3 separate regions of the Homo sapiens genome follow, and all the other regions are linked to region 1. Evidence: promoter capture Hi-C in 16 types of primary human blood cells and fetal thymus (Javierre and others, 2016). All regions are on one chromosome and are shown on one strand. Each heading gives the region's core, a stretch centred on a gene start or on the middle of the fragment in contact. The rest is flanking DNA. Distances are from core to core; before and after follow the strand shown.

Region 1 (3,974 bases), core at 899-3,398:
CATCCCCCGCTCCCTGCCCCTGCAGAATTCTCAGCTGAGTGCAGTAATAGCATGACTGGGCACTTTAAGTCTGCCATTGTGCCATAACTTCCTCCTTGTCATTGCCCGTTAGCATCTCCTTTCTGAGAGGGTGGCAGGGGCAGGGCCACATATGAACTTGAATGGTGAGGTGGGGTGCAGTTGCTATTTCTTGCCAATACCCAAACTTCCAGCTGCATATTCAAGTCTCTGACTTGGAGCCGGGCAGCCAGAGAGGCAGGAGAGAAGGACCTGGGCAAGAAGAACAAAAAGGCCCCACTGCACGGCTCCATCCCCATCCTCTCTGTCTGCATCCCTCCAGTGTGGAGCTCAGGTGTGGGGTCCCCAGCACCTCCTCAGCAGGTAGCTTCCTGAAGCCCAGTACACTCTCACTCCCAGGCCTGCTTCCTCTCCACGCCTTTCCCGCTCCTCCCTGCATCTCAAATTGGTTCTTAGAACCCCTGCCACATCCAAGGAACTACTTGTGAAATACCTTTGTGATTACAGTTTATATGTTTAATTAGAAGCTGGGAATTAAGCTTCCAAACACCACAAAATGAAAGCTTGAGATTCTTCCAACAAACCCCAGCTTTCCACGAACATGGGCTGACTCATCCGTCTCCTGCTCTCCCCTGTCGCCCCAGCCCTGTCTTTCATGCTGAAGTCATTCACTTTCTTCACCTGGATTTGGAAAACTGCTGATGTCTCGTTTAGCTTCATTCCTAAGTTGTCTTTCAAAAGCAGGGACATGCAAAGTGGCTGCCTGTGGCAGAGGCAGCAGGAGAGGGGCACACTTGTTGAGTCTGAGAACTTCACAAAGACTGTTAATTAATTGCTCATTTCGACAAATGAGAACAGATTTCAAATGCATAGTTGAACGTGGAGCAGGAAGAACATCTTGCTCTTGTGACTTGGTTTTAAACGTTGCATCTAGAAGATGGGGTGATACTGAAAGATGTCACTTATTTCCTTTTGTGAATTGAGATAAAATGGTTCTAATTCTTTCACTGCTTTCTGGCTTTAGGGCCCTGCGAAAGAATGTTTATTCTTTTGCTCTTGGTGGGAATTGGATGTCTGTCGATTTAGCATATGTTTAAAATATTTTAGCTTTGGAAAACTGCCCTGATAGCCTTCTCCCTCTAGTCAAAATTAATCTCATCTTCCCGCAGCTCTCACAGCCAGTGATTCATGGCTCTAATACAGCCCTTCTCATATTCTTCTTTATTCTATAAAGACTTACTTTTCTATAAAGACTTTTATTTCTGTTTGTCTCTTACATCAAATTGAAAGTTCTGTGTGGAGAAGAACTCTGTCTTACACATCTTTGTGATTACCTGAGTCTAGTCTGGTACATTATATTTGGCAGCATTCAGTACGTATTACATTGAATCTGGAAGATCACACAGAGAGGGGGATTCTGAGGGGTGGCAACAACCACTTTTGTAGCAGACGCTGTTGGTGTCCAACCCATGTCCCCTTGGCCACCCCAGAGTTTGGCTGTAGTCACATGCTGTGTAGACAGACAACCTCCTGCTTCTCTCTGCCTGAGGGCATTCTTCAGCCATAGAAATGAGCTTGGAAGCGGCTGGGTATGGTGGCTCACACCTGTAATCCCAGCACTTTGGGAGGCCGAGGCAGGCGGATCACAAGGTCAGGAGTTCAAGACCAGCCTGGCCAATATAGTGAAACCCCATCTCTACTAAAAACACAACAAATTAGCTGGGTGTGGTGGCGGGCACCTGTTATCCCAGCTACTCAGGAGGCTGAGGCAGAAGAATCACTTGAACCCAGGAGGCAGAGGTTGCAGTGAGCCGAGATCGCACCATTGCACTCCAACGTGGGCAACAGTGCAAGACTCCATCTCAAAAAAAAAAAAAGACAAAAGGAAAAAAGAAAAAAGAAATGAGCTTGGAAGCACACAGGTTAGTCTGCAAGTGCCAGGGAATTATTGCCCAAGGAATGACCCTTGGCCAAAGAGGGAAAGTCCTGGCTGGATAAATAATCCAAAGTCCTTGCCCTCATTCCAAGGAATGTTCTGCAGTCTCCTAAGGGTTTCCTGCTAGAGGAAGCCCTGATTGCCCAAAGCTTCTTAACACATTCTTTATTAGCTTTCCTCTCTTCCCTGTTTCATATTCCCTGTGCTCCCCTGGGATCAACAGCCAAATGAACAACTTCACCTGAGCCCTTACCTCCAAGGAAGTGCCACAGGGGAACCCAAAGGCCCTTAATCATTAAAAAAAACTTTAGAGATGCTGGCTGAGCCATCAGTGAGAACATGGATGCATACACAGAACCTACATCTTGTCATCTCTGCTCTTCGAGGAATGGAGCTGGAGAGGCAGAGAAGCAATGAAGCCGAATTCTGTGAGTGGGACTTCTGCGCAGCGGGGGAGGGAATTTCTACTTCTGGCCAGGAAATAGAGCTGGTGCCTTGTAGAAAGGCTCGAGGTAATGCAGTCAAAGGGCAAGCTTAGAGCAGTATGTGAAGGAATCCACCAAGGATTAGAACCAGCCAAGGGTCAGACAAACCAAATGAGACCAGAAGAGGAAAGTGGTGTCTTGGCAGAAAGGGCTTCCAGACCCATAGTCACAGGAATCTTCAGGAGAGGGGTGAAGAAGAAGGCATGGATCGCCAGGCCCAGGAGAGTCTAAAGCTGGTTTGGTGGGGAAGAATTTGGCCACATCTGTGCAGGATCCTAGAGAGTGGGGCAGAGGAGCTGGGCATCTGCTGTCAATGAGGCCAATTAAGAACAGTCTCAGGCTTGGGTCTCAAGCCTCAGGGATCTAGAACTTATCTGGTTTTAGCTGCTCTATATTCATTTCTTAGGAAGAGAGAGAGAGAGAGTATGTGTGTGTGTGTCTGTGTCTGTGTATATGTGTGAAATTTCTCTCAACTGAAACACAGGGCAGAACACTAGATGAAACTAGTGCTGTACTTTTCTGCTTATCTGTCGACACAGTCTTAGTGCGCAAAGTCTTGGTCTTAGTGGCTGGGTGTGGCAGTTTCCCAGAGGTGGGGGGCAGTAATAAAGAGAGAGAAAGGGAGACCTGATAGAAGATGGAGACCAGATAGAAGGCATCTGCTACGTGCATAGGTGCCCCTTTCTGAACAAGCTGTTTTTTGGTTACGAGATCCATTCCTGAAATCGATTTTAAGATATTCTGTGTTGGGTGATGTCACAGAAGCACTACTGGTGCACGGATTTGAAAAATAGTGGCTCATCCCGCCTCAGGGTTTGACAGCTTGGTAACTTGCAGTGAGGTTTCTTTTAACAATGAAACCAAGTCCTTTGAAAGACAAAAAAAGAACAAAACATCCACTAATTTTTGCGTGCAGGAGTAAGACAACAGTATTGGGAGATCTCAGCTATAAATGTGCCAGCTCTGGGAACTTTGGTTAAGTCATTTCACCATTCGCCTGTTTCCTCACCTATAACCAAGGAGGCAGCCAAGCCATCCCTAGTATTTCCTGGAATTCTGAGATCCTAAGTCAGATTGTTGAGTCTGGAGAGGCTGGATTCAGTGATTGACTAGGAGGGGCCTGTTTGTGTGGCTGTGTTCTATATGGCAAAACTTTGGTTCAGCACTTTGGCCAAGTCGGCCTCCACAGAAATGAGGATGTAAGAGCCTTTCCAAAAATCATATTAATTGAAACTATGTGGAGTCTGACTTAACTTCCATCTATATGCCTCCTTTCCCTTCTTCTAAGTTGTTTTTTCCCTAGTATTCCCTCAAACAACCACCTTTGTTCAAGTCTAAATGAATGTCTTTGGTTTCAAGATAATTCTCCCTTTTCAAGCAATTTCTGAACACCCTGTCCTGCAGAGAGTGGCCCGGGGCGGGGGGAAGAGTGGAAGCTTGGCTTGAGGAAGGAGACTGAGGGGCCTGTGTAGGCGACATGTTTGACTTGATCTGCCCCAGCCCCCAGCTTTCTGCACTTTGGGAGTTTTGCTTAG
Region 2 (3,974 bases), core at 673-3,172, 110 kb before region 1:
TAATTGATGGTGGTGCTAATGAAGCAGTTGCATATATTCTATGCTGAGGGGACAATTGAGCACAAGAATAGGTCCAAATAATTTTTCCTTTATAAGTAGGTGAGGTGCCTTTTTTTTTTTTTTTGCTGCCTTGCTGCTGTTAGGAACTGCATCCTCCTCCCAAGTCACTGCTGAGAGTCTGGATCTTTTGTGTACAATTGTCAAGGGTTTTCTTACGCTTTCAAAATAAGACTATCCCAAGAATACTCATATTTTTGTTTCTACAACATTTGGGATGCCAATTTCTAAACTGAGCGATAAAATGTAATCTGCTAAATATGAAGGAATCTTTATTAAGATATCAATTATTGTCTGAACTTCTAATCCATCTCTTCTGCTTAGGAATTTTTTTAATGAATATTATTTGTCAATGAGAATATCAAGTGTTAAATGATTTATTAAAATAAGACAATACAGCTCTAAGTTAATTACCATAGAAAAGGTAACTTTTCTAGAGATCACAGTGTATACAACTTAGATTTATTGGAAGGCTTTAGAGTATATAAACTTTTTATATGAACCATTTGAAAAACTGATATAAACAGCTAAAGGGAAAAGAAAGAAGCTATGAAATTTACAATTGGGTGATCCTGAAAGAGAAAAAAAAAATCCTGTTAAGTTTACATAAAAACAACAGAAAGTAAGACATGGCACCATTCCTTTTGGGAATAATAGAATCCACGTTTAAATCCTGACTTGTTTCTAGACTGTAGGCTTCAGTGGGATCCTGGAACCAAATTTGGAGCTTTACAGTGAAGTCTGGAGAAGGAGGAGTGGCTGCCTGGTTGGAAAGACTTAATTATAAAGAACTTCTTCTGAGCTTCTTTTGTTTTGGTAGAAACTAAAACATGCCCTGGTGGTGTGTGTATGATGCCAAAACATCTGAATGAAAATCAAATCGCAGCCCCAATTTACAGATGCATGCCTTACATCCATTCCAAATGCAGGGGCAGTCTTTGGAATGGAAGCCTATTTTTCTCAGGATCAGGGATGGGCAGTCAAGAAACAGGGCTACCCTCCCCTCGCAGCTGACACTCTTTGGGACTTCCTTCTGTCCTCCAATTGGTTGTTGGCTTTGCTCCTGAGAAGAATGGCATCCTCGCACTGCTCCACTTTTGTCCTTGTTTCTTACTTAACCTCCCTGAGTCTCATTCCCTCTTCTGCAAGAGACCAATTCTTGATCAATGACAAGAACTTGGGAAATGTTCATTCCCTTCTTAATGTACCTTCATTTTCATCCAGATGGTGGTGGCGATTATAATAGCAAAAGGGAGGAAAAGAAGACAGGAAGTTGATTCTTCCATAGGTTTTCTCCCTTTGCTACCTGTGAGGTCCTTAAGTGGAATTCCTAGTCTCTGCCTTTAGGGTCTGGCTCTTCTTTCTTTTTTTCTGGGGCTCCATATTCAGAGAGGTCATTGACATAGAATGTTCCTCTGAAATGCAGACGCATGTTTTTCTTTAGACCTCTATGTGCTGTAAGACCTGCCTTATTTCCTACTGTCATCCTTGTCTTTCCCTATAGAATATTACAATTATGAGTTGACTCAGGAGGGAGCTTTGAATTTTCTTTTCCCAGTTTCCTAGCAAGGTGCTTTTTTGAAAGCCTCAAAAAAGATTTTGAACTTGCTTTAAGAAAAGGATGGCTTAAGAGAATTGGGAAGTGGGTCAGGGTAGAGTGTGAAGCTTGAGGCATGTGAAAAGGTGATGATGGCAGAAAGTCGAAGCAGGTAGAGCCACCCTGAGGTGCTCAGAGAAGAGTGTCCAGAAGCTGACGGACACCAAGAGGGCCCCGAGGAGGAGGCAGATTTCCCTGGAACCTTCTTTTCCCAATTCTGCTTTTTGAGTTTTCCACGTTTCTCCTCTGGAATCCTCATTCCTGCTGCTGGCTAGCTGGGGTGAAAGGTGAGAAAGAGTCACTGATCCCACCAAAGTGTTTGGAATTCATTTTCTCCCAGAGTCATCACTGAGCTGTTGGATGGAACTCCTCGCATGGCATGTGATGCCTCAGGTTCCTTGTCAGCTGCCCACCTCTTAGAGCTCGTTTCTTTGGGAGAAAGTTTCCTAAGAGCTCCAAACAAGCTTGAAAGCAGATTTTGGGAATAGTACCTGTTCAAAAGTTAAGTCCTTCCAATAATGCAGTCAATTATCTAGATTTTTCTAAATGGCCGATGGTCTAATATTAAATGCCATCTATTGGGTTAAAAGGTTTCTGAATGTTTGGGAAGACACAGTGCCATCACCAGAAAATGAAACCAGCCTACTGTAGCACCTAAAATCATAACAAATAAGCAATCTCTTATTTATAGGAGGTGGACTTTGATTGTAGATAGATACAGCTGTTTTGCGAAATAACAGCTGGCTTAGGTTTCTTTAGTGGCTTATACCATCGGTAAATCTTTCCTGATGTGCTTAGTGTTTTCAATTTAATTGGCTGCACTTAAAGCGTCTGAACTTGCAAAAACAATAGAGAAGTACATTAAATGAGTGCAATCAAACACAAATGGCTTAAAGTTACATCAAAATGGAAAATATAGATACATTATTTTATTTAATGTACTGCACTCAGACTGTTAAAGCTTGAAAAGGAATAGTAATTATGTAGTCATTTAAAAAATGTGTTTTCAAAGAAACACATTTAATTGCTTGAGAATGTTTCCATTATAATAAGTGGAAAAAAGCAGATCACAAAACGATATTTTGGAAAATCCCAATTTTGTAAAATAACTATATATATATATATATATATATATATATATATATATATATGCGTGTGTGTGCATACACACACATATGAACATACACAAACATAATGAAAACTTAAAAGACTTGAAAATAATAAAGAAAAATTAAAATATTAACAGTGATCATCCAAATGGTAGAATTAGGTGTGATTTTAATTTTCTCTTTTGTATTTTTCCATATTTTCTATAAGGAGCAACTGTTAATTTTCATATAATGTTTTTAAAAGAAAAAACACAGAAGAAAAGAAAATTAAAATGAACATAACCTAACTTTAAAATCAAAATCCCACTGCAAAGGAAACATTTCTTTCAAGTAAGGAAAGAGATATGCTCCTGAACCAGCAGGAAAAAAGAGAAAGGAAGATTGTAACTGGGTCAAGTACATGTCCAGCTTTCTCTGCAAAGCTCAGGCATTTTTCTTTTTACAACTGCATCCAACCTCTCCAAAGCTGCTTTCTTTTAATCTCTGGAAGGCAAGTTTCTGAACTAATCGCAAGAAGAATCACGTTTACTCCTGGCGAAGGAGTCCGATTGGCATTGCATTGGAGAGGAGCGTTTGTTTCAGGGTTGCTGACTGTACAAGCTGCTTTCTGTGCCGCTGTTCGGTCCGCCTTCCTGAGCTGGGTTGGTGTGGAACTGCTGTTGGCTCTCCTGGCTTTCCCTGGTACACCTACAGACACCTGGAAAACCCAGGTCTAATTCTGTCATGACCCATGGCTGTCATATTAGGAGGATGGGTCTCTCTCCAGCCTGAATGGGCTTCTAAAGCTGACAATTGCTCCACATTAACCAGTTGTCAGGTTCTCCCTTTTTTTTTGTCCTCATATTCTCTGATTCAACTTACTCAGAACCTCAGCTTTCTTCCTGAGATCTAGGACTCCGGCCACATGGTGACAGTGCTCTAAGGTTGCCCCAAATGCTGATCCCCAAAGAGAAATGTTTACGTCTCCTGTCTGGGCATGCCAGCCACACCCAGTGAGGTCGGCCTCTTATGTAAAGGCTGGGTTTGCAGACAAGAGTGTGAAATTGAGACAAAGACAACTTTAAAGTTGAGTTTAGAGGACTGTGTTATGTTCTCTTGGCTTGTTTCTGAGCCAAGATTTTTTTCTTTTTTAAATCAGGGCTTACGAAGTAGCTGGTGAAGTAGCTATAATTATTTCGGTTAAATAATTTCTCCAAAAATAATAATCTCTA
Region 3 (3,974 bases), core at 962-3,461, 85 kb after region 1:
CTGTCTATACAATATGATTTTATTATTTCCCCTATGTCAGGTATTTTGTGTGAATTTTTAAAAATGTAATCCTCATAACAAATATATGTTAGTACAATCGACATCTTCATTTTACAGATGGGAAACTAAGGTTTATAGAGTTTAAATAACTTGCCTATGTGGTTGAGATTGGAACCCAGACCTGTCTCTCTTCACAGTCCAAGTTTTTAGGCACTAAGCTATACTCCCTATTCTAGGCCAAACATCTAAAGGCAAGCTTGATTTACATGGTCTTTGTTTGTTTGTTTGTTTGTTTCTATATCTTCTATCAAATTGGCCATTATCCATGGGTGACTCAAAACAGCATCTTTGACCAGGACTTTGACCTTCAAATGTGGAGGATGCTGACCTTTTTTTCTAGTTATTGGGGAGAGGCTGGGTGTGTTGTTCACCCAAGAACTGAGTGTTTTTAAAAAGTTTTAAGAGCTCCACTGGTGAGCCAGTAGAAGTAGGTGTTTTGCAGTACTGGTGTCTGAAAAGCAATTTTTCAAAAGGCAAATCCCATTGTTCTGTGGACTTCAGTTATAAAATCACAGCCACATTCCCACAGGCTAGAATGGAAAAGTCCAGTTCCTGAGTCACTGGGTTGAAAAGTTTTGGCAAGAATTGGCCAAGTGACCTGGCCTGGCCCAGGGAGGGCAGAACTCAGAAAGTTACACAATTGTCTCCTGACCCTGGAATCTCCTTTCCAGGGCAAACCCCATTCTTTTTCTTCCCCTTTCCCCTGCGTTTTATTAAACTTGTAAAGGCCTCCAACTACACTTTAGTAACTGTCAGCACTGCTTCCTATGATTCCATCTACCCTATTTACAAAGTTGAATAATGGAGCAAGGGCTGCAATAGCACAGTTTCATGTAGGAATAATCATCGAATGCAGGTTTATTCTAAAGGGAAAATTCCAGATTCCAGACTTAATGCCTTGTTTTATGACTCCTAGTAATTTCAAATACCTATATATCAAATCTGCCTGAAATATGTGTTTGAAGTAATGGAGAATTTAGAATGATGAATTAAAATTTGCCATTTTATTAATTGCATTCTGAGGCCATTTTCCTAAATGCAAGATTTGGGGAATTAATTCTAAGCATGATTTGGAGTTCCAGCCAATTCAAGAATAATCCAAGCAAAATAAAATAATGAAAACCCAAAGACTTTGATTATCTTTAAATTGGCCTATCATATCCTTATAATTTAATTTGAATGCTTTCACTCTCTTCCCCATCCCTTATCCCAGAACAACCAAATATACTTCTTTTTCAAAAAGGTAGGCAGTATACATTTTGTCCTTGTCTATTCTACCCGAGATGACAGTCATTATGATAAATGGACCACACACAGAACTGAATCTCTCCGTTGTGGCTAAGGTCTGCAGCATAAAATTGAGAGGACTATTGTGCAATGTATAAGGCACAGATTTCAAAGCCAAGAGACCTGGCTCTGAGCTACCTCTTACTAGCGTGTGCTCTTGGGGAACTGTTTTAAGGTCTGTGGGCCATTGTGTTCACATCCGTAAAGTGAGGACCACAGTGCCTGCTCACATGGTGATTATGTGGGTTAGGAACTGCTGGTACAAAGCAATCGCTCAATAATTACTAGTTTTAGGAGGACTTAAACAAATATAATGGTAATTCTCAAAGTTGAGGTGGGGGCACAATACAGGGAGACTCTTTTTTTTTTTTTTTTGAGATGGAGTTTCGCTCTTTCACCCAGGCTGGAGTGCAGTGGTGCGCTCTCGGTTCACTGCAATCTCTGCCTTCTGGTTTCAAGCGATCCTCCTGCCTCAGCCTCCCGAGTAGCTGGGATTACAGGCACCTGCCACCACGCCCGGCTAATTTTTGTATTTTTAGTACAGATGGAGTTTCACCATGTTGCCCAGGCTGGTCTTGAACTCCTGACCTCGTGATCTGCCTGCCTCGGCCTCCCAAAGTGCTGGGATTACAGGCATGAGCTGCCATGCCCTGCCCTGCAGGGAGACTTTAAAGAGTATTATTTGAGCCCCTCAGTGGGCACTTTTGTACCCCCTCCTCCATTATCTCTGTCACGTATACAGGGTAACTTGGTCCTGGTTCCTTTCTCCATTTCACCCTACTCCTAGGAGGTTCATATGGCGGGCTAGCTCAAGGCCATACATGATGGTGAAATAAAAGAGCTGAAGGGAATTTCCTTTAAATGGCAATATATTATCAAACGCCAGAATAAATGTGTTCACACTCTCTAAGGCACACACCCACAGATTCTCTCATAATGATGCAAATGACTAAAAATCATGTTAACTCAATATGCTTTCTGAAAGCATTTCCATTGCCAGTCTGTGGGAAGTCAGCATTCTGGCACTTGAACCCCCTCATAAGGGCTTGATTCTGAGGGGTACAGGAAGTTGTGAGTCTGACCAGAGGCAAGACAAAGCTCTTTAGGTGTCAGAGTGGGAGCCAGCCAGGGCTGCTGAGCCTGCCTTGCCTCATCTCAGAATTGGCATGACCTCTTGTAGGGAGGGCAAATGGTAGTTACCGAGACAGGGTGGGTGGGGTGTTATAAACCAATGCCAAGAGTTTCTAAAACCCCAAACAGTTGTCAAATAAGAATGACGAGCACCGCAAAATGCTGCCACCTTTCCCACCCACACGGAGCACGGCTGCCATGTCCCTGCAGAGCTCCTGGCAGAGCAGCCAACAGCCGCTCTGCGCCTCAGGCATGGCAGGCAGTGAAGCATTGTTCTCCCTTCTATTTCTTAGTGGCTGGATGCTTCCCTAGGTGAACCATAACAACAGAGCGGGCTGATGAGAACAAACTAAAATTACAAGTGACGTCTCTACAGCTGAAGGCAACATAGGCACAGCCCATAGAGGAGATAGATGAAGACAAAAATTTCTTTCTTGGGCTCACTCTTGCATCTCCCCAGTGACCAATGCTATCTGGGTTATGGGTTGAATGACCACACATTTAGTTAACTCTGATTGTGCCCTTTCAGTCTCAAAAAGTAATGATTTAGATAATAAATTACATAATCACCTTAGTTATGGTCATAAGCCATGGGACTTATTGTACAGTGTATAAGGCACAGATTTCAAAGCCATCCTTTGCTAGCTGATGGGAAGATGCGAATAAGGTGGAAAAAGGCAGAACTTGGGCTTAGGAGCTAGGCAACTTTGTAGGTGAATAGCAATGAAATCAAAATTACATCCAAACAATGCAATGAGCTCGGATCCATGGGTGTCAGCATCCATCTCTGGCAGGGGCTGACATGGTGGTGGAGAGGGGCTGGAGTGCGGGCAAATGGCAGCATCGTGGCCTCCAGGGATCCCCTGGGTTTGCAGCAGGACACCAGGCAATGGCTGGGGCTTGGGGAGCAGGGCCTCCCTTGGTGTGAAGAATGTGGCAGGAACCAGGCTGGGTTAGAGCAAGGAACTAAGACAGATTCCAGATGTACATACTGGGAAGCGCAGCAGGGGTCTGTTGCGGGGAAAGCTGAAGTCCAGCAGGCTTGTGGGTCCAGCAGGCTCACTCCAGGTGCAGTCTGCTGTGCTCACGCCACACACTTACCTCTGTTATTGCATTTAATCCTCACAGTAGCCTCGAAAAGTGGGTGTTATGTCCCTTAGAGAGGTTTGGCAGCCAAAGCTCAGAGTTTCAGTGGCCTGCTGAACATTACAGAGCCAGGAAGTGGCAGAACCAGGACTACACCCCTGATCAATCTGTATGTAAAATCTGTGCTCTTTTCTCTCCACTATACTGCCTGAAAGATAAGGACTTATTCAGGCTGGCAATTTGGAGAAGAGCATTGGTGCAGAGTAATCTGAAAGTGTGGTGTATTTGGGGTGGGGCCAGCGATGGGGTATGTCTGCAACAGAAGAAGCACATGGCAGAGACTGAGCAGGCAGGAGAGGGGCTGGACAGAAAGGGAGTGGAAATGCGGCTCTCACCTGGAGGCAATGGGA

The links. The method cuts DNA at HindIII sites, captures the fragments that hold promoters and counts their contacts. A CHiCAGO score of 5 or more calls a contact.
Region 2: a fragment that was not itself captured here is called in contact with the fragment with the promoter of C5orf67 in region 1 in 2 of 17 cell types (total B cells and naive B cells); the score reaches 7.8 in total B cells.
Region 3: a contact is called between a fragment that was not itself captured here and the fragment with the promoter of C5orf67 in region 1, in 2 of 17 cell types (naive B cells and total B cells). The highest score is 7.2, in naive B cells.

Annotation. Positions count from the first base shown.
Region 1 is chr5:56,604,430-56,608,403 of GRCh38, reverse strand. It overlaps C5orf67 (chromosome 5 putative open reading frame 67), which reads left to right and starts at 2,148. Exons shown (of 6, transcript NR_161255.1): 1 at 2,148-2,382. The HindIII fragment of the contact is 384 bases long and covers 2,106-2,489 here.
Region 2 is chr5:56,717,186-56,721,159 of GRCh38, reverse strand. No RefSeq gene overlaps it. Among named protein-coding and RNA genes, the nearest start is that of MAP3K1, 96 kb to the left of the region's middle. The HindIII fragment of the contact is 396 bases long and covers 1,725-2,120 here.
Region 3 is chr5:56,519,835-56,523,808 of GRCh38, reverse strand. The region is part of intron 4 of C5orf67 (chromosome 5 putative open reading frame 67); the gene reads left to right. Among named protein-coding and RNA genes, the nearest start is that of LINC01948, 40 kb to the right of the region's middle. The HindIII fragment of the contact is 3,906 bases long and covers 259-3,974 here.